Linked DNA regions of Homo sapiens: all the other regions are linked to region 2. The links are contacts of gene promoters, found by promoter capture Hi-C in blood cells and fetal thymus (Javierre and others, 2016). All regions are on one chromosome and are shown on one strand. The core of a region is centred on a gene start or on the middle of the fragment in contact, and the rest is flanking DNA. Distances in the headings are between cores, read along the strand shown.

What was found. The method cuts DNA at HindIII sites, captures the fragments that hold promoters and counts their contacts. A CHiCAGO score of 5 or more calls a contact.
Region 1: a contact is called between a fragment that was not itself captured here and the fragment with the promoter of HEG1 in region 2, in 2 of 17 cell types (naive CD4 T cells and activated CD4 T cells). The highest score is 6.3, in naive CD4 T cells.
Region 3: a contact is called between a fragment that was not itself captured here and the fragment with the promoter of HEG1 in region 2, in 3 of 17 cell types (naive CD8 T cells, total B cells and activated CD4 T cells). The highest score is 6.8, in naive CD8 T cells.

Annotation. Positions count from the first base shown.
Region 1 is chr3:125,318,337-125,321,408 of GRCh38, reverse strand. The region is part of intron 3 of ZNF148 (zinc finger protein 148); the gene reads left to right. Among named protein-coding and RNA genes, the nearest start is that of ZNF148, 55 kb to the left of the region's middle. The HindIII fragment of the contact is 1,342 bases long and covers 818-2,159 here.
Region 2 is chr3:125,054,735-125,057,480 of GRCh38, reverse strand. HEG1 (heart development protein with EGF like domains 1) reads left to right here and starts at 1,484. Exons shown (of 17, transcript NM_020733.2): 1 at 1,484-1,906. The coding sequence starts at 1,591. RefSeq lists an enhancer at 921-970 and silencers at 1,221-1,600, 1,681-1,770, 1,831-1,990. The HindIII fragment of the contact is 2,339 bases long and covers 871-2,746 here.
Region 3 is chr3:125,347,384-125,350,174 of GRCh38, reverse strand. All of the region lies in intron 1 of ZNF148 (zinc finger protein 148), which reads left to right. Among named protein-coding and RNA genes, the nearest start is that of ZNF148, 27 kb to the left of the region's middle. The HindIII fragment of the contact is 843 bases long and covers 1,022-1,864 here.

The sequences.
Region 1 (3,072 bases), core at 239-2,738, 260 kb before region 2:
TTTTTAAAGCTTTTAGGTTTTTAAAGTCATATAAAATGATTATTGTTAACGTGTAAGTTTTCTGATTAATACTTGTGTTAGCAGCTATTGAAATAGATATTTGTTTAAACATCCTTTCTTGTTAGCACTGATCAGAGACCATTTTGTCCAGTTACCATTATTATAAATGATGTTCCTATTAGGATATTTTGAAATAGTAGTACTTTAAAAATTAACATGGTTTAGAAGATATGTTTTATAGATACAAAATGGTAGTTATACAGAGGTATATCTGAAGAGGTCTTTGAATGTACTTAGACAAGAAATAGATTTTGTTTTATTAATAAGAGATGAAGTAGTTTCTGCTTAGATCAAAACTATACTTTTCAAGGATGAAAGCAAATACAAAACTTCTTCAGAATAACAAATAGCAAATTTGTTAAAGGTTCTGGTATTAATCATGGGTTTCATCTCACCAAATGATCTGGAGGCCGGTTGATATTTGTATTTCTAATGCTGATATTTTTAAGGTATAATTTCTCACGGTTAGAAACATAGGTTAGAAATGTTAATATCCAAGTTAATGTAACTGGCATCCTCCAAATAACAGAGTGCTTTGGATCAGAAGTAATTTGTGAAATCTAGCTTTTTTCTTTTACCTGTTTTCAGAACAAGTTCCTTTGAGTGCTTCTCTTGGCTTACAAGTGAAGTTTCATTTTAGATTGAATGGGTTCTGTTACAAAGTCAGGGGAAGAGGTATTACTGAATTTGTGAGAATATTTTAAGTTGGGAATTACTCTTTTTATACAAAAGACGATGATGATTAGGTTCAGAAGCTTGCCTATTATAACCTGCTTTGACTCATAGTTGAAGTTCCATATTATTCAAAAAAGTTTATGGAAAATAATATTACTACCAAACTCAATAAATGAAACAGAAACGTAGGATCTCTAAGTGAGAAATATTTATTTCTTTCATGCTCAAATGCAGATTAATTAAAGGTAATAAGTGACACATGGATGTTCATATACATTCAGAAAGGGAACTTGGTGCTTTAAAAAATTTTAGAGCATATAGCACAAGCCTTCAAATCTGTTTTCATTTTAAAATGTACAGCCCTCTTTTTTTGATACAGGTGTATCATTAGGACTGACTGGTTTTACATTTATTAGCCATATTTAGGATTATTTTTAAATTTTCAATTGGAATGGGAAGGTAGAGAGATTTTCCTGGTAAGGCTTTGAGAAAACAGAGGGAGGAAGGTAGCTTAAGAAGATACATTTAAACACATGAAAAAGAAAGAATGGCTGAGGAGAAATTCACTGAGATATGAGTAACAGATAGAAAATTGGAAAATAGAAAACGTGGAAAGTGTTGAATCCTCCCACAGGAGAAAAGGGGATTCTGTGTCGGAAAGTTCTCCCATAGTAGCCATGAGGTGGAGTAGTCAGCTAAGGACAGTTTGATTGCTTTGCCAAGCCAAGCAATGATGACAGAAGGCCTTAAGAGCAGGTGGTGAGAGGACAATGAGAGTTCAACTACTTCCTAATGTGTCCAGGGCCTTTTAAAGTCAGGAAATAGTGTGATAAGGTAAAAAGTGCATTGAGTCAGGTAAGTCTGGTTTGAAATCCCAGTTTACTTCTGAGCTATGTATCCTTGGGTAAGCCCCAATTTGTCTGTTAAATGGGGATATGCTGTTACTGTCTTGAGGGTTATTGTAAATATTAAGTAAGGTAATATATTTAAAGGTGCCCAGCACAGTGTCTTACATCTCAGCACACATTAGTTGTCTTTCCTCTCCAGGTTTTCATAATTTCTGAATTTTAGAATACAGACATAAACATATTAATTTGGAAAGACCTCATTAATTGTATAAAACTCCCATTACAAAAAACCTCAGCAAGCATTTTTTTCCCAGTTTTTAATTGACCCTTGTAGAACAAGCAAGCATTTTTAAGAGCCTTGTATATTTGATTAAAAATGAGTAGTAGTGCCCAACTTGTCCATTTGTAATGCTTCTGTTAACTTTGTCCTCTGAAGATGAGCCCAGACAGTTCCCCGAGTTTTGGACATAATTGTCAAAAACATTTGTATTAAAAGCCTATGTATTTAATTCCTTATTAAAAGCCCCGACCGAAAACTGTTTACTCTGTTTCAACTTAATATAAATCTATAAAGCTTAGTTTTTAATTACTTACACATAATTGATTAGAAACATTAAATTAGAAGGTGACCACAAGAAGAGTCAGCTATTTCTTCTGGTAGACAGGAGAAAGGTAATGGCAGATAATTTACGTTCTTTTTAAGTAGCCCTCTGCCACTAGGCTTAAATGACTAGAGGGTTACCTAAGCCACTGCAGTTAGGCTTTTACACAGCTGAACTAAACACGTGTCAATAGGAAGGATGTTAGGTGTGTGGGGGGGTTGGGAGTGGGAGCAGGGAGGGGAAATTTAATGGAACTGGAAGTTGTGTTGTGGCCCCCTAGATACCCCTGTAGACAGTTTCTCTCGCAGAGGGATGGTGATGAGGGAAGAATAAATCATGGAAGCGGGGGAAGAATGCAGAATTTGAAGTAATCTGCGAAAGGGAGATTTAGGAGAAATTGGCCTGAGTTGGTCTCCTTCCTTTCTCTTTCCTGCTCCGTTGTAGTTTTCATCATTCTCTGCTCTGGGTAACTTGCAGTGCAGAGGAAGGATTGCCTCTCACTCTTAGCTGAATTAGCCCTTGGACATCATTTTCCAGTCTGTCTTGGTTCTTAACAGCGCTGCCATTTTGTACTCTGTGGTGTCAGCTGCCTAAGGTCTCTACAAGATAAAGGGTCTTCACAGGGAGCTCAGAGTGGCTTATTACTCCACGTATTTTCTTTTCTTTCCAGTTGGATAGAGGTTCCTTGAAGCTGAAATTAATTGTTTAGTTTTTTTTTCCCTTCCAAATCAGTCTTCCATGTGAGTAATAAGATTTAAAGGAAGCATTCTTTCTTTCCTCCTCTCTTCTGTGTAGTATCCCTAGCCCCTGACTTTCCATTAATTATACACACATTTGGATTAGAAAGCAGTTGGCTTTTTGAGGAGTTAACAGGAAGAGACAGTTAA
Region 2 (2,746 bases), core at 235-2,734:
GGTTTGTTTAAAAACAAAACAAAATAAAACCAAATCTTTACTCCTCATTCTCTCATTTAAGGTGAGTTTGTTTATACACAGCCTCCTTTATGTTTTTCTGCCAAATGACTCACTTGTACTGAGTCACCAGAAAGTGGGCCTAGGCCCATCTGCAGCTGCCCTGGACACTACGATCTCATTCTCCTGGAGGTGGGTCATGGAGATCTGGAGACAGAGAAAAAGAGAAGAGCAGAGAAATAGGATGGAGAGCCAGGCCTGACAGTGAGGTGCATACTCATATTTTCACGAGCATTTGGTTGTCAGACAGGGGCCCCCAACAGAACTCGCAAGAACCCCAAGGAGCTGCAACATTTGTTTCTGTTGCAATACTATTTGTTTCCGTTTGCGAATTATTGCAAACTCTGAATTAGGAGACCAGAATTAATAATATCACATGGTCATTCACAGATCAATCATTTCGTCTTCGGGTCTACCTTCAGAATCTTGAGCAAGTTATTTTCCCATTTGAGCCCCTCTTTCTTCACTTAATGAGGTGGCTTACAGTCCTAAACTTTAGACAGTTTATTATTCATTTACTGGGGAGGGAGAGGTTATGGAAACAAATGGAACTTTATTGACCAAGAAAATTTGTTTACATGAAATCTTTGAATCTTTCCCCATAGGTTTCCATTTAAAATTCTGTGTTCTCTGGGCATCATTTGGTTTAATTTGCGATCTGCAGTTCTTTTCCTGATGATGAGTTTGCCCTAGCCTGCCTGAATTCACAGTTTTCTTTTCCCTGCAGCCTGTTTGGGTGTCCTCGCGGTGACATCTCTGCAGAACTCTGGTGTGAGCCAAAGGCAGTGGTCGGATGGGAACGGCATCCAAGCTTGAGAGGGCGTGGGGGATACTCGGATTCTCGCGTTGGCCGGAGGGTGAGGTGTTAGGTTTGGCAAACACGAGCTCATCACCAGCCCTGGGGCCTGAAGAAGGGGAGGTGGGGGTGGGAGTGGGGACACTTCAAATCAATAACGGCGGTGACAGCGCGGGCTGGGTACCAGGGGACCGTTCCCTTTCTCTCTCCTATCAAAGCACTTGGGATAATCTAGTCTGGTGCTAATCACATTACCCAGGACCTGCTTTTCACCTACTTCTTGTGCGTTTAAGGAGTTGGGTAGGTGGTGCCCGATTCAGAAGACTCTGGAGCATGTGTGTGACAAAAGTTGCAGCACCGTGGCTCCGCTGACCTCATCCCGCTGTCCCGGGCCGGGCCGCTCTCCAGGCGCCCGGCCCCAGCCCCCTTCCTGCCCTCTCCCCGCCTCCGGGCCCGCCGCGCGGGGCCGGTGATGTCAACTGAGGAGGAGCCGCCCGCCAGCCAGCGACCCGCCCGGGCTAATTAGCATGTAGCGGCGCCGCGGGCCGCCTCCGCCCAGCCAGCCCGGCCCCCGGCAGCCCTCCCGCGGCTCCCGATAACTTTTGAGGCGGGGAGCGCGCTCGCAGCCTCACTCCGCTCACTTCCCCGGCCCCGCGCGGCCCCCGCCGCCCGCTGCCCGCTGCCCGCTGCCCTCGCCCCGCGCGCCGGGCATGTGAGCGCGGGCGGGCGCCGTCACCATGGCCTCGCCGCGCGCCTCGCGGTGGCCGCCGCCGCTCCTGCTGCTGTTGCTGCCGCTGCTGCTGCTGCCGCCGGCGGCCCCCGGGACGCGGGACCCGCCGCCTTCCCCGGCTCGCCGCGCGCTGAGCCTGGCGCCCCTCGCGGGAGCGGGGCTGGAGCTGCAGCTGGAGCGCCGCCCGGAGCGCGAGCCGCCGCCCACGCCGCCCCGGGAGCGCCGCGGGCCCGCGACCCCCGGCCCCAGCTACAGGGCCCCTGAGCCAGGCGCCGCGACACAGCGGGGACCCTCCGGCCGGGCCCCCAGAGGCGGGAGCGCGGGTGAGTGAGAGCCGGGAACCTGGCGCCTGGCCAGTCTGTGCTGGGGGCGTGGGCGCGCCCCGGGCTGCATCCCCAGCCGTAGGCCCCTCCGCGCGGCGCGACCCAGGGTGGGGGCTCCTCGCCCGGCGTGTGCGGGACCCTGAGGGTCGGCGGGTAGGGAGGGACGCTTTCGCAGTTGGCTGGACTGAGGGGTGTGACTATCCCGTTCTCCTCCAACCCTTTGGAAGAAAACTTATTTCCTATGGGGTACCCTGTATCTCTTCCACCCCACTTTAAAAAAAATGGAAAGGAAAGGGAAAAAGACTGCAAAGCATCTCTCCCACCTCCGATATCTGGCCAGCCGGTCCCCAGTTTCATTTTTTCCGCTATACAGAACTGGCCTCTCCAGGTACAGGGCTCGACTTTCTCATCTAAATAACTGATTTTTAAGGGGTTCTAGGACGGGATATTGTAAAGGACAAAGGATGTACGTAGTTTGAAACAAAACGCTCTACTGGTTCGACTTAAAAGCAAAGGAACGCGGTTGGGGTTGCATGGTTGAACCCCTGCAAGGCACAGGCTGATACAGGACCATCCCTGAGCCTCCTCCCTCCCCTTTCCTTTCCCAATGAACTGTTGCTCCGTGGTAGCCACCGCCTGTCCCACGCAGAGAGAAGGAACTGACCTCTTCTCCCTGCTACCTTTGTGTCCAGTTCTTTCTTATGATCTGGAAAAATATGCCACATACTGAGTGGAATTCTAACCATAATACCATTATGACCTTGGGACTGCTGTCTCTTTGCGCTCACTTTCTCCATCTGTGAAATGAAAGTGATGATCCCTGTTCCTTCTAGCCTCCTA
Region 3 (2,791 bases), core at 194-2,693, 290 kb before region 2:
AAACAAAACAAAACCAAAACCCATTATCAATTCTTTTGGATAAATATGCACAAGTGGGATTTCTGGAACATACAGTAGTTCTATTTTTAGTTTTGTGAGGAACCTCTGAACTTTAAAAAAAATATTATGCACCATTTTGCATTCCTATGAACAGTACACAGGGTTTACAATTTCTCCATCCTTGCCAATACTTGTTATTGTTATTTTTGGATAATGGTTGTTCATACAAGTTCATGTATCTTTTTGGTATAATGATTTCTTTCTTTTGGATATACACCCAGTAATGGGATTGTGGGGTCAAATAGTAGCTCTGTTTTAAGTCTGTTTGTTTTTTGAGACAGGGTCTGGCTCTGTCATCTGAGCTGTAGTGCAGTGGTGAGATCATAGCTCACTGCAACCTCAAACTCCTGGACTCAAGTGATCCTCCTGCCTCAGCCTCCTGAAGTGCTGGGATTACAGGTGTAAACCACCACATCTGGCCTGTTTTAAGTTTTTTGAGAAATCTTGAAGTTGTTTTCCACAGTGGCTGAACTAATTTACATTTCCACCAGCAATATTTAAGTGTTCCCTTCTCTTCACAGCCTCACCAACATCTGTTAGTTTATGATTTTTAATAATAGCCATTCTTACTGGTGTGAGATGGTATCTCATTGTGGTTTTGATTTGCATATTCCTGATGATTACTGATGGTGAGCATCTGCTTATATACCTGTTGGCCTTGTGTATGTTGTCTTTGAATAAATATTTTTTCAGGTCCTTTTCCCATTTGAAAAGCAGGCTATTTGTTATTTTTTGCTATTGAGTTGTAGGAGTTCCTTGTATATTGTGGATTTTAGCCCCTTAGCAGATGTGTAGTTGCAAATATTTTTTCCCATTTCATAAGTTGCCTAGTTGCTCTGTTGATTGATCTGTTTGCTCTGCGAAGCTTTTTAGTTTGATGTAATCTCACTTGTCTGTTTTTACGCTTGTTGCCCGTGCTTTTGGTGTCAAATCCTAGAAATCATGGCTGTGCCATGAAGCTTTTCTCCCATGTTTTCTTCTAGGAGTTTTACAGTTTCAGGCCTTATTAAAGTTTCTAATCTATTTTGAGTTGACTTTTATGTATGGTGTAAAATGAGGGTCAAACTTCAATTCTTTTTCATATAGCTGCCCAGATTTCCCAGTACCATTTATTGAAGAGACTGTTCTTTTCCTGTTGTGGATTCTTGGCACCTTTCTTGAAGATCAGTTGCCTCTGTATGCCTGGGTTTATTTCTGGGCTTTCTGTTCTGTTCCATTGGTCTGTATGTTTTGTTTTTATGCCAGTACCATACTGTTTTAATGTGTTTTGAAATCAGGAAGTGTGAGGCCTTTAGCTTTGTTGTTCTTTTTCAAGATTGTTTTGGCTACATTCGGGGGCTTTTGTGGTTCTGTTTGGGTTTTAGGATTGTTTTTGTATTCCTGTAAAAAATGCCATTGGGGTTTTCATTGAGATCGTATTGAATCTGTACATCGCTGTGAGTAGTATGGACATTTTAACATTAAGTCTTCTAATCCATGAACATGGGATGTGTTTCCATTTATTTGTGTCTTCAATTTCTTTCATCAGTGTTTTGTAGTTTTCAGTGCATACAAGTCTTTGCCTCCTTAGTTAAGTTTAAGTATTGTTTTTGATGCTGTTGCTGTTGGATAGCTTTTTTTTTTTTTTTTTTTTTGAGACAGGGTCTTGCTTTTTTTCCTGGGCTGGAGTGCAGTGGTGCTATCACAGCTCACTGCAACCTTGGCGTCTCGGGCCCGAGTGATCCTCCTGTCTCAGCCTCCTGAGTAGCTGGGACTATAGGTATGCGCCACCACACTAGACTTTTCTTGTGACACTTTTGAAGCTTCACCTGTTACTTATAGGTCTTTAATTCATTTAACTAATTTTTTTTTTCTTGGAGACAAGGTCTTGCTCTGTCACCCAGGCTGGAGTGCAGTGGCACGATCAAGGCTCACTGCAGCCTTGATCTCCCAGGCTCAAGCAATCCTCCAGCTACAGCCTCCCGAGTAGCTGGGACTATGGCACATGCCACCACGCCCAGCTAATTTTTGTATTTTTTTTTTGGTAGAAATGACGTTTTGCCATGTTGCCCAGGCTGGTCTCAAGCTCCTGGGCTCAAATGATCCACCTGCGTTTGCTGGGATAACAGGCATGAGCCACTGAGCCAGGTCTTTAATCCATTTAGAGTTAATATTTGTATATGGGATGATGAAGGTATCCAGTTTCATTCTTTTGCATGTAGATATTCCTTGGTTCTAGCACTGGTTTGTTGAAAAGACTTCTTTCTCTACTGAATTGTCTTGGTGTCAAAAAATTGGTTGACTTAGCCTGGTGCAGTGGGCACACTCCTGTAGTCTCAGCTGTTTGGGAGGCTGAGATAGGAGGATCTTTGAGCCCAGGAGTTCGAGTCCAGCCTGGGCAACATAATGAGACCCCACCTCTATAAAAAGAATACATAAAATTAGGAGGCTGAGGCAGGAGAATCACTTGAACCCAGGAGGTGGAGTTTGCAGTGAGCTGAGATCGTGCCACTGCACTCCAGCCTGGGTGACAGAGTGGGACCCTGTCTCAGAAAAAAAAAAAAAATAATACATAAAATTTAACAAAAAAGATTGACCATAAATTTAGTTATTTAAGTCTGGACTCTAAATTCTATTCCTTGATCTATATGTTTATCTTCATGCCAGTACCACAGTGTCTTGATTACTGTAGCTTTGTTAGTTTTAAAATCAGAATGTATGCATCCTTTAACTTTGTTCTTTTCTTTCAAGA